Regions from separate parts of the Homo sapiens genome. Here all the other regions are linked to region 3. Evidence: promoter capture Hi-C in 16 types of primary human blood cells and fetal thymus (Javierre and others, 2016). All regions are on one chromosome and are shown on one strand. Each heading gives the region's core, a stretch centred on a gene start or on the middle of the fragment in contact. The rest is flanking DNA. Distances are from core to core; before and after follow the strand shown.

Region 1 (3,427 bases), core at 31-2,530, 780 kb before region 3:
AAAAAGGTTGGGGACTGCTGCTGTTAATGACTAAGAAAGACCAGGTCTCCCCCTTCCCATTTGGTGATTTTTGTTACAGATTAGCTGTCTCCATTGTCCTGTACCTGACTTAGACCAGACAGCACAGAGACCCCAGGACTGTTTCATCTTCAGTGGGTCCCCAAAGAAAAAGACCACCTCGACTAAACAGACTGTTGTAACTATGCATTAGGCCTTATACAGAAAAGACGCTGAAATTCGGTTAGGCTTCCCGAGACGCTGGCTATAGAAACGACCCCAAATTTCTACGTTTGAGAACACTGACTTCCATTCTTTATAATGTTTCCTGGGCGCCTCAAGCTTCGCATTTGACTAAACTCTAGATTCTGACCCTTTTGATTATTTTTGGTTGACAGTTTTTGTCATTTTATGGCTGGGAGTGATGGCTCACACCTGTAATCTCAACACTTTGGGAGGCCAAGGCTGGAGGATCACTTGAGCCCAGGAGTTTGAAACCAGCCTGGAAAACATAGTGAGATCCCGACAAAAGAAAAGAAAAGAAAAAAATTAGCTGGGCGTGGTGGCTGCCCCCGTGGTCCCAGTTACTGGCGGAGGGGGTGGGGCGGGGGGAAACAAGGCGGGAGGATCGCTTGAGCCTGGAAGGTGGAGGCTGCAGTGAGCCGTGTCCCGCCACTGCACTCCAGCCTGAGCCAACTGAGGAAGACCCTGCTCCAAAGAAAAAAAGAAAAAGAAACACCCGCGCCCCGCCCCCCCCGTTTACGTGCACAAGAAGCCCATATGCAGTTAAGTGTGAGGTTTATTTTGTGGCATTCCGAAATGCCGAGGGCCAGGTCCCCACAAAAACATTTGCGGCGTGAGGGAAACGGGAAGAGCCCAGCGGTAGGCGGAAGGCACGCGCCGGGGACACTCAGCGGCGAGGGCCTGCGGGAGCCCCCAGCGCGATAAGGAGCCCGGCCGGGGAGCAGCGGCCCGCCGCGGGACGCCCGAGCTGCGGGGAACGCGAGGGCAGCGAGGCCGGCGTCTCTGGTCCGGGAGCGTCCAGGCTCGCTCACCGCGCGCGAGGCCCGCCTGCCGAGTCCTGGCCTCAGCTCCGGCGCAGGGCCCAGCGGGGCGCCCACTGCCGAGGGAGGAAGATGGACGTGTCCCGGGAGCCCCGCTCCGCCTCCCACTTCCCACCTCCCGGTCCCGCGCGGCCGGCCCGGGCGCACTTCCGTCGGAGGCGAAGCGCGGCGAAGACCCGCCCCGTGAAGCCTCGCGCGCCCCGGAAATGGTCATGCGGCGGCGCCGAGGCCGGAAGTGGCTGAGGCCGGCAGCAGCGGGCGGCAGCTGCGGCGCAACCGGCTCCGGAGCTGCCTGGCGCGGCCGGGCGGGCGGCGCCGCTCAGGCTCGGGCTCCGGCTGGGCCCGGCGCGGCCTCGGGGCTGCCCATGGGGCGCGGGGGGCCGGGCCGGTGACGCCGGACGCCCATGGACGCCTCTGAGGAGCCGCTGCCGCCGGTGATCTACACCATGGAGAACAAGCCCATCGTCACCTGTGAGTGCCCGGAGGCGGGGAGGGCGCGGCGGTCGTTGGGCGGGCCCGGGCCCTGGCGTTATGCACCCGGCGCCCCCAGACCTTCAGCCCCCGGCGCGCTCCGGGCTGGGCCGCTTCCTGGAGGTGTGACCAGGGCTGCGGCTGAGGCGGGGCCCTCTGACTTTTCGGGGACGCCCTCTGACCTTCCCGCCGGGCGACCTCTGACCCCTGGGGGGCGCCCTCGGGCCGGCTGCAGTTGGAGCCGGTGGAACCCGGCGGACTCTGCCCGGGACTGGGCGCGCGCCGGCGTCGAGGGCGAGGAGCGGGGGCTGCCACCGCCCCGTCCCGCCCCCGTTGAGCCGCGCGCCCGGGACCTGGGGGCCCCGGCCTCTTCCGCCGGGCGGTTTTGCCCGCGGGCGCCCTTTCCCCGACTACGGGGAAGTCCTTGGGGGCTCGCAGAGTTGCAGGCGTTGGCGAAGTAGGAACAGTTTGTTGCGGGGTGAAGCGTCAGGCAGAGCCGCCGGGACTGCTTTCGCTCCTACACACTTCCCCGCCGCGCACTCAAACCATTTTACGGATGAGAAAGCCGAGGCTCGGGCGCTTAGGCGAGCTTGCTCCCCATGAACAGCCTCCCGCTCGAGTCTACACTACGGACACCTGGTGCCTCTTGGGTGTCGTGTCCTCCCCGCACCCCTCCTTTAATGCATACACAAAGGAACTGTTTTTCTGTTACGGGAAAAATGTTCCCTAAATTTTAGAAGTGTGACTCTCCAGAGTTAAATACGGTTAAGAACAGTGAGCTTATGGGAAGTATTGAAATGTTTGTTGGTTGGCTTTTAGGTGACTTGCAGAGAGGTGTTTCAGACTGTTACGATTTTTGACCTTTGACAGTATTCTGTATTTTCATGCATGTATGCAGTTAGTTTTTTTCTAGTTGTCTTTCGTGCTTGGAAAGGAAGCACTCTCTGTTGCAAAATCTGGGTGCCCAGGCCACAGTAGACTGTATGTCGTGAGAACTCCTGTTTCCCTCTCACTCTGTCAGCGGGTGTGCACCTGCTGTGTTCCTTCCTGTTAGATCCCTGAGAAACTGTATATTGAAGGTTGAATTTTGTTGCTTCAGCTTTAGGTGATAGACTTATTTCTTTCCTTCCTTTTGCTTTATTTTGTCTCTTCTCCTCTCCTCCTCTCTCTTTTTTTTCTACAGAGACCTAGACGAGATGATAGACTTTTCTTAGGGAAGTGGACTGTGTCTCATTTAAAATTGGAGACTTGCATAGTTCAGCAGTAGCTGTCTTTTTTCCTCCCCAGAATATTTGTCAGCTGAAAGTCTTTTCCTACTCTGCACCTTCAGCCCCAGAGGGCAGATGTGGGTAGAGCTGGTCTGCAGGCCCTGCAATTTCCCAGGGGCTTTCCCAGTGCTCAGGGAAGATGAAGCCATGCGCAGTTCATGTTAAGTTTTACTGTCTTCCAGAGGTTGAACATTTTTCTCCTAAAGTGCTGTGCACGTTGTGAATGCTGGATACACATTCATTGCCTGTACGGACATCCACACATCTAATTTTATCTTCTACCTCCTAGCTTGCTTACATTTCAATAGCAATATGTATTTATAGGCATTATGTAAATACATTTCTGAGGAGAAAGTTCCTAAGCTCTATTGGATTCAACCATAACTAAAGGGGTAAAGTTTGTTATCTGGTTGCCAGTGTTGGAGATATTTAATGTTTAGTTTTGTACATGCGTGCATCACGGACAGCTGAAGGATGCGGTTTTCTTTCCTACAGATTTATTGGATTGTCATCTTGGTGGTGGGTTTTTTCCTGTGTTTTGAGCAGCAGAGTGAATTTTTTTTTTTCCTTCTTCTTCTTTTTTGAGACGGCGTCTTTCTCTGTCGCCCAGGCTGGAGTGCAGTGGCA
Region 2 (3,338 bases), core at 121-2,620, 690 kb before region 3:
TGTATTAATTACTCTTAGTGGAGATGCCAGATATCCCATACAGAATTAGCAGAGAAAATACACACAGGCTTCTATTCAAATTTTCTTTAGTGCTTAAAATTAAGTTTTAAAATGAAATCAGACACTGCAGGTTTGTATATAAAATGAAAAGCTATACTACTTTTTACAAAAGGGCAAACTGGGCTGATGTAAATGTTTTACTTTCAACTGTGTTCTTTAAAATAAATCCTACCTGGTTTTTAAATTTTATTTTTCATGAAAATGCTCCTTTCTCTACATTTATTCATCCTATATACATCAGGCTGTAAGACCCCCCCCAGTCATCATTAATACAATGTGTTGGGATTCTGTGACTGGAAAAGGTGACAAGTTGGTGACTTTGACACTGCAGGTATTCCATTTTCATGGTTTACTATGAAAAGTCATTTTTCATATTATGTAATATATTGTTAGATTAAAACCATTGTATTAAGACTTTAAAATGTAAGCATTGTAATTCTGAAAATACACATTTTAAGAAGAAACTATTTTGCACTGGATCTTTTGCTGCGACATGGTGTGACAACAGTATGTAATGTGAAGATTTTATTGTTTTATCTCCCTAGTCCTTGTTCCTGACTCTTGGGCATAGATTATTTGCCTTTTGGGAAACATTCGGATTATTTTTTTTTTTTTTTTTTTTTTTTTCTCTGAGACAGTCATGCTCTGTTGCCTAGGCTGGAGTGCAATGGCGCGATCTGGGCTCACTGCAGCCTCCGCCTCCCAGGTTCAAGCCATTCTCCTGCCTCAGCCTCCCGAGTAGCTGGGACTACAGGCATGCGCCTCATTTTTATACTTTAGTAGAGATGATGTTTCACCATGTTGGCCAGGCTAGTCTCGAACTGCTGACCTCAGGTCATCCACCCGCCTCAGTCTCCCAGGCGTGAGCCACCGCACCGGCCAGCATTCGGGACTTTATTCATAATTCCTTACCCAACAGTTCACAAGAACGAAGACATTTGGGTGTGCAGCGCTCTCATGTTGTGGACGCTGCTGTGCCAGGCTGGGCGTCCGTGCGGAGCGCGCCCAGCGCTGGAGCGCGCCTAAGAGGCGCCCTGCAGTGTGGCTCCGGGGTGTGGGCGGGGCCCGGAGAAGGCCCCCGCCTTGGGAGGGGTTGGGCCTCGCGTTCAAACTCCGCCTCGGGGCGGGGCGAGGGCGACGCAGCTCCTCCTGCCTCCTGGGCCGCTGCGGACGGTGGTGCGCGACCCCGTCCCGGGCGCGCGCGCTGTGGGCGGTGCACGCCGTCGCTTCCCGGAAGTGCGTGCTGTGGGCGGTGCCGCGCGGACCCCCGGGAAGTGTCTCTGTGGGCGGCCGCCGGGTTGAGCTGCGGCACACGTGCGACGGCCGTGATGAAGTTCGCTTACCGGGTGAGCGCGGGCGGCGGGCGGTCTGTTGGATCGGCGCGGCTCTTCCGGTGGACGGCGCCTGAGCTGGCTCCGGGCGGGCTGGGGGCGCGTGGTCTGCTTTTGCGGCGTCTGGCCGCGTGGGGGTCGCCGGCTGTCTGCGCGCCCGTGGCCTCGGGGACGCGGGGCTGTGGTGGGGCTCCTGGGAGAGCTGGGACGGAGGCGCCGACGGCTTCTCGGAGGGAACAGGGACATTTGTCGGGGTCCCGGGATATTTTTAACCTGAGTATGGCCCAACCTAAAGGCTGGAGTTGGTGCAGTCGGGGAGGGCACAGCACCCTCGGGAGGGATGAGGAGGTGGGACGGGGCGGGGACGCGGGCGCGCGCAGGCGGGGTGAGAACAGCAGGGACCCGGGGCCCGGGACTGGTCCCTAACGAGCGAGCGTCCAGGTGAGCGGAAGGGCGGGGAACCCAGGTGTGAGCTCTGTTTCCCGAGGCCGGAGGGAATTCCTGAGGCGGACGCCCTCAGCTTTGAGAGCCAGGGAAGACTTGTCCCAGATGTGAAGTGCAGGAGGCGGGTGAGACAGGTAATAAGAGGGGGCCGTGGAGCCGGCCTGGGGGTCTCTGAAGCGTTTGCTACAGCTGGCCGGTTATGGGGACGCCTGTGTTTCCCACAGTGGCCCTGACCGTTGCGCTTCCAGGGTTGCACGGGCCGCCTGCTGCTGAGCCCACCGTGTACTACACTTGTCCTGTCCGAAACTGGGCATGGTACTGGCCCCTCAGAGTGCTGCTCCTGTGTCCCCTGTGCTGGTGGAGCCACCGCTGTGTGCCCAGCACCAAACCAGAAACCATATCCACGTCCTCACAGGCCAGGACTTCATCCGCTCCACATTCCTACTGCAAGGTGGCAAAAAATGTGCCTTGGAGCCTGCCTGGCCGCTTAAAGTCCTTCTGCTGACCAAGCTCCTCCCTGAGGTCCTGAGGGCGCTGCCCACTCACAGCTTCAGGGCCTGGCTGGTGCCTTCCCATTTAGATTCCAGCTCAGGTGACCCTTCCAGGTGCCTCTCCGTGACCACCGTCTAAAGTAGCCCCTGCTCCCACACTTCTCATCCCCCTCCTGCTAGAGAGAGAATATAAGGTGTGCGTGTCTGTGCGCATGGCAGTCTCCAGTGAACGCTCGTGCTCGTGAGTTAGTAAATAGGATGCTGGCTTACCACACTTCTGGAAGCCCTGAGTTCTAAGCACTTTTGGGGTGCTGTTCCATTGTTGCAGCTTTTTTCTTGGTGAAGTGTGGGCTCCATGCCCCTCTTCACCTGGCAGACGCCTCCTGTCTTGGGAGGCTTCCTCAGTGCTCACAGGGGCATCTTACCCATCTCTGTGGGAGCTTGGGGCCGCCCGGGCTCCTCTGGTCTCCTGAGGATCAGGCTCACTTCTTCCTCTCTTACCCAGGAAAGGTGAACGGGCCCCCAAGGTGGGGTTCTCTATGCCATCTCTCTGCCCAGATGCCTCACTTAGTGCTTTTCTGGGAGTCGACTGTTTTCTTTGTGTTAAGACAATTTTGTTTTCTTCACAGTTTTCAAATTTGCTGGGTACGGTGTACCGGCGTGGGAACCTAAATTTTACCTGCGATGGAAATTCAGTTATCAGTCCCGTGGGCAATAGAGTCACTGTATTTGACCTTAAAAAGTAAGTATGTGAAAGTGGTATTCATAATAGTGATACTGATTACTATTATCACCATTTTTTAAGTAACATATGAAAACTGATAGTGTCTTCTGTGCCTTCCTTTTAATGGTGCACCCGTTAATTAAGGGAGCCCAGGACAGGACTACAGGACAGACTAGGGTCAGCAGATCAGTTGTGGAAATTGGCAGCCAGACCCAGTTCTTCGTTGTAGTGCCTTAGCCAGGCCCCATAAAGTGGTGTGTCACTTGGCTCCGTTCTGTGGGAAGGGAC
Region 3 (3,306 bases), core at 632-3,131:
GGGTGGTCTAAAAACTGCAGCTCCAGACCTGCTCCTGGCAATGCAGGCTCAGCACAGAGACCTGCCCGGGTGTGCGCTGGCCTTCCCGCCAGCTTTGTTATTCAACAGTGGCCTCTACTGGTCAATAAAGAAGTGCAGCAAATGAGTTCAGAGGCTGGAGGGAATGGTTCAGGGCACTTATTTTTTCCATTTTGTTTTTTGCTTCCAAAGCATATACACGCGTACACAAAATAATATACAGTTTCATGTTTACTGATAAGAAACAAGTTCAAAAAAAGAGACGAATCTTGGTATCAGGGAAATTTTCAGAGGCCATTCCTTGCCACTTAAAATAGTGGCTTAACAAATAGCTACCACACAAAGTGAAATATAACCTTTGACCCAGCAATTCCATTTCTAGGAATCCATCCCACAGATAACATTGGTGAAGATAAAAAATGTATACACAGGCTATTCATTTCAGGACTATTTGTAAAAACAAAAAGAAATTAAAAAGAACTTGAGTGTCTATCAACAGAGGACCAGTCAAATTATGATACATATACCAGTGGGGTACTTTGCAGCTATAAATACCTCTACATGCTAGTACAGAACAAACTTCAGGACATATTACATGAAAAAAAAGAAGGTGGAGAAAAGTGTGTGACTAGGGCCTTTAAGAGGTAATTAAAATTAATGTGGTCATTAGGGTGGACCTTAATCCAATCTGACTAATATCCTTTTAAGAAGAGATGAGGACACAGGCATAGAGGACAGAGCCTCAGAAGAAACCAGCCCTGCCCTATCCTTGATCTTGGACTTCCAGCCTCCAGGACTATGAGGAAATACATTTCTGTTGTTTAAGCCGTGCCCAGCCTGTGTGGTAGAGCAGCCCTAGCAAACACAGTGCTGAAACAACTGCACTGCCATTTACAAATAATTTACAAATAAACCTTGGCCTTTATCTCATACCATATGGAAAACTTTGATATGGATCCCAAACCTAAATACAAGAGCTGAAACTATAAAACATCTAGAAGAAATCATAGGAGAAAATCCTACTGCCACCTGATGTTTGGCAGTTATTTCTTAAATATAACACAATAGCAAGAAATATTTTAAAAGTCAATAATTGAATTTCATCGAAATAATAAAAACCCTTCTTTTTTTGTTTTTTTTTTTTTTTGAGACGGAGTCTCGCTCTGTCACCCAGGCTGGAGTGCAGTGGCGTGATCTCGGCTCACTGCAAGCTCCACCTCCCAAGTTCACGCCATTCTCCTGCCTCAGCCTCCTGAGTAGCTGGGACTACAGGGGTCCGCCACCATGCCCAGCTAATTTTTTGTATTTTTAGTAGAGAGGGGGTTTCACCGTGTTAGCCCGGATGGTCTCCATCTCCTGACCTCGTGATCCGCCCACCTCAGCCCACAAAGTGCTGGGATTACAGGCGTGAGCCACTGCGCCCAGCCAAAGAACTAAAACTTAAGAAAATCAACACAATTTTGAAAGAAGCAAAGACTCAAGTCACTTTATCTAAAAAGACATATGGATGGCAAATAAACACGTGAAATGATGCTCAACATCACGAGTCTTATGGAAATGCAAATGAAAACCTCAGTAAGGGCCGGGGGCTGTGGCTCATGCCCGTAAATCCCAGCACTTTGGGAGGCGAGGCAAACTCCTGAGGTCAGGAGTTAGAGACCAGCCTAGCCAACATAGTGAAATCCCGTTTCTACTAAAAATACAAAAATTAGCCAGGTGTGGTGGCACGCGCCTATAGCCCCAGCTACTTGGGAAGCTGAGGCAGGAGAATTACTTGAAGCCAGGAGGCAGATGTTGCAGTGAGCTGAGATCATGCCACTGCACTCCAGCCTGGATGACAGAGAGAGCACCTCAAAAATAAAAAATAAAAAAAAATAAATAAATAAAACAAAACCTCAGTAAGACTGCTATACACCCAATAGAATGGCTAAAATTTTTAAAACTGGAAGGGCGCAGTGGCTCGCAGTTGTAATTCCAACACTTTGGAAGGCCAAGACGGGCAGATTGCTTGGGCCCACGAGTTCGAGACAAGCCTGGGCAACATGGCGAAACCCTATCTCTACTAAAAATACAAAAATTAGCTAAGCGAGGTGGCATGCAACTGTAATCCCAGCTTCTTGGGAGGCTGAGGTGGCAGGATTGCTTGAGCCTAGGAGGCAGAGGCTGCCATGAGCCATGACTACACCACTGCACTCTAGCCCGAGTGACAGAGTGAGAACCTGTCTCAAAAAAAAAAAGAAAGAAAGAAAGAAAAAAGAAAACAAAAAACAACTGGCCACGCGAAGTGTCAGCAAGGAGGTGGGGCAACGGGAACACTTAATACACTGCTAGGGAAATGTGAACTAGAGGAAAACTGGCCGTTTCTTTAAAAATTAAACACACACTTCCCATTATAACCCTGGTTATTTACACAGGAGAAATAAAAGCATATATCCACAGAAAGACATGTACATTTAGGACATGCACACAGGGGGAAGATGGCCATGCGAAGATGGAGGCAGAGATTAGAATTACACTACCTCAAGCAAGAGAATGACAATAAACGCCAAGGATGACCAACAATCACCATTAGCTGGAAGAGGCAAGTAAGGGTTCTCCCCTCGAGCCCTCAAGAGGAAGAATGACCCCATCAACACCTTTATTTTAGATGTCTGGCCTCCAGAACAGTAAAAGAATAAATTTCTGTTGTGCTAAGCCCCCCATGGGCAGCCCACTTCTACCTGGGTCTATCTCTGACACTCCTAGGAAAGGCTGGATGATGAATGAAGACAGAACATCAAGACAAGACAGCAGTTTACAACAATTGAGTTCTTTCCTGGCTCTCCTTTTTTCCTGTTTATGAACCTAGGCAAAATCATCTTGTCTGTTGCTCAATTCCATAAAATCTGTAAAATTAGGGGGCTTGAACAGAATCATAGCCAAGGTCCCACCACCTCTGAATTTCTGCAGTTATATGACTACTCCCAAATACAATAAAGTGTGCATGAACATCTAACCAAATTTATCTAAACCCCTTCTATGTAGAGATTGATTCTGTCAAGTCCACCTTTACACTGGAATGTGCTACCTTAAAATACGTTATGAGGACAAACTAGATGTTAAGATACACACACAAAAAAAACCAGTAAATGATACACAAAAAAAACCCACTAAATTTTATCACATTATTAAGATACAGGAAAAACAAAGTCCCCTCAATAACACACTGTATTCATCTTCTGTCACTGCTGTAACAAATTACCACAAATTTAGTGATTTAAAACAATACTCATTGATGATCTCAGAGTT

What was found. The method cuts DNA at HindIII sites, captures the fragments that hold promoters and counts their contacts. A CHiCAGO score of 5 or more calls a contact.
Region 1: a contact is called between the fragment with the promoter of TRAPPC10 here and a fragment that was not itself captured in region 3, in 1 of 17 cell types (naive B cells). The highest score is 5.9, in naive B cells.
Region 2: a contact is called between the fragment with the promoter of PWP2 here and a fragment that was not itself captured in region 3, in 1 of 17 cell types (naive B cells). The highest score is 6.1, in naive B cells.

Annotation. Positions count from the first base shown.
Region 1 is chr21:44,011,029-44,014,455 of GRCh38, forward strand. It overlaps TRAPPC10 (trafficking protein particle complex subunit 10), which reads left to right and starts at 1,281. Exons shown (of 23, transcript NM_003274.5): 1 at 1,281-1,532. The coding sequence starts at 1,466. RefSeq lists silencers at 906-1,285, 1,436-2,105 and enhancers at 2,656-2,715, 2,736-2,785. The HindIII fragment of the contact is 3,568 bases long and covers 338-3,427 here.
Region 2 is chr21:44,106,029-44,109,366 of GRCh38, forward strand. It overlaps PWP2 (PWP2 small subunit processome component), which reads left to right and starts at 1,371. Exons shown (of 21, transcript NM_005049.3): 1 at 1,371-1,406; 2 at 2,956-3,068. The coding sequence starts at 1,389. TRAPPC10 (trafficking protein particle complex subunit 10) reads left to right here. Exons shown (of 23, transcript NM_003274.5): 23 at 1-524. RefSeq lists silencers at 917-1,433, 1,024-1,407. The HindIII fragment of the contact is 7,342 bases long and covers 1-3,338 here.
Region 3 is chr21:44,793,388-44,796,693 of GRCh38, forward strand. All of the region lies in intron 1 of UBE2G2 (ubiquitin conjugating enzyme E2 G2), which reads right to left. Among named protein-coding and RNA genes, the nearest start is that of UBE2G2, 6.8 kb to the right of the region's middle. The HindIII fragment of the contact is 4,014 bases long and covers 1-3,306 here.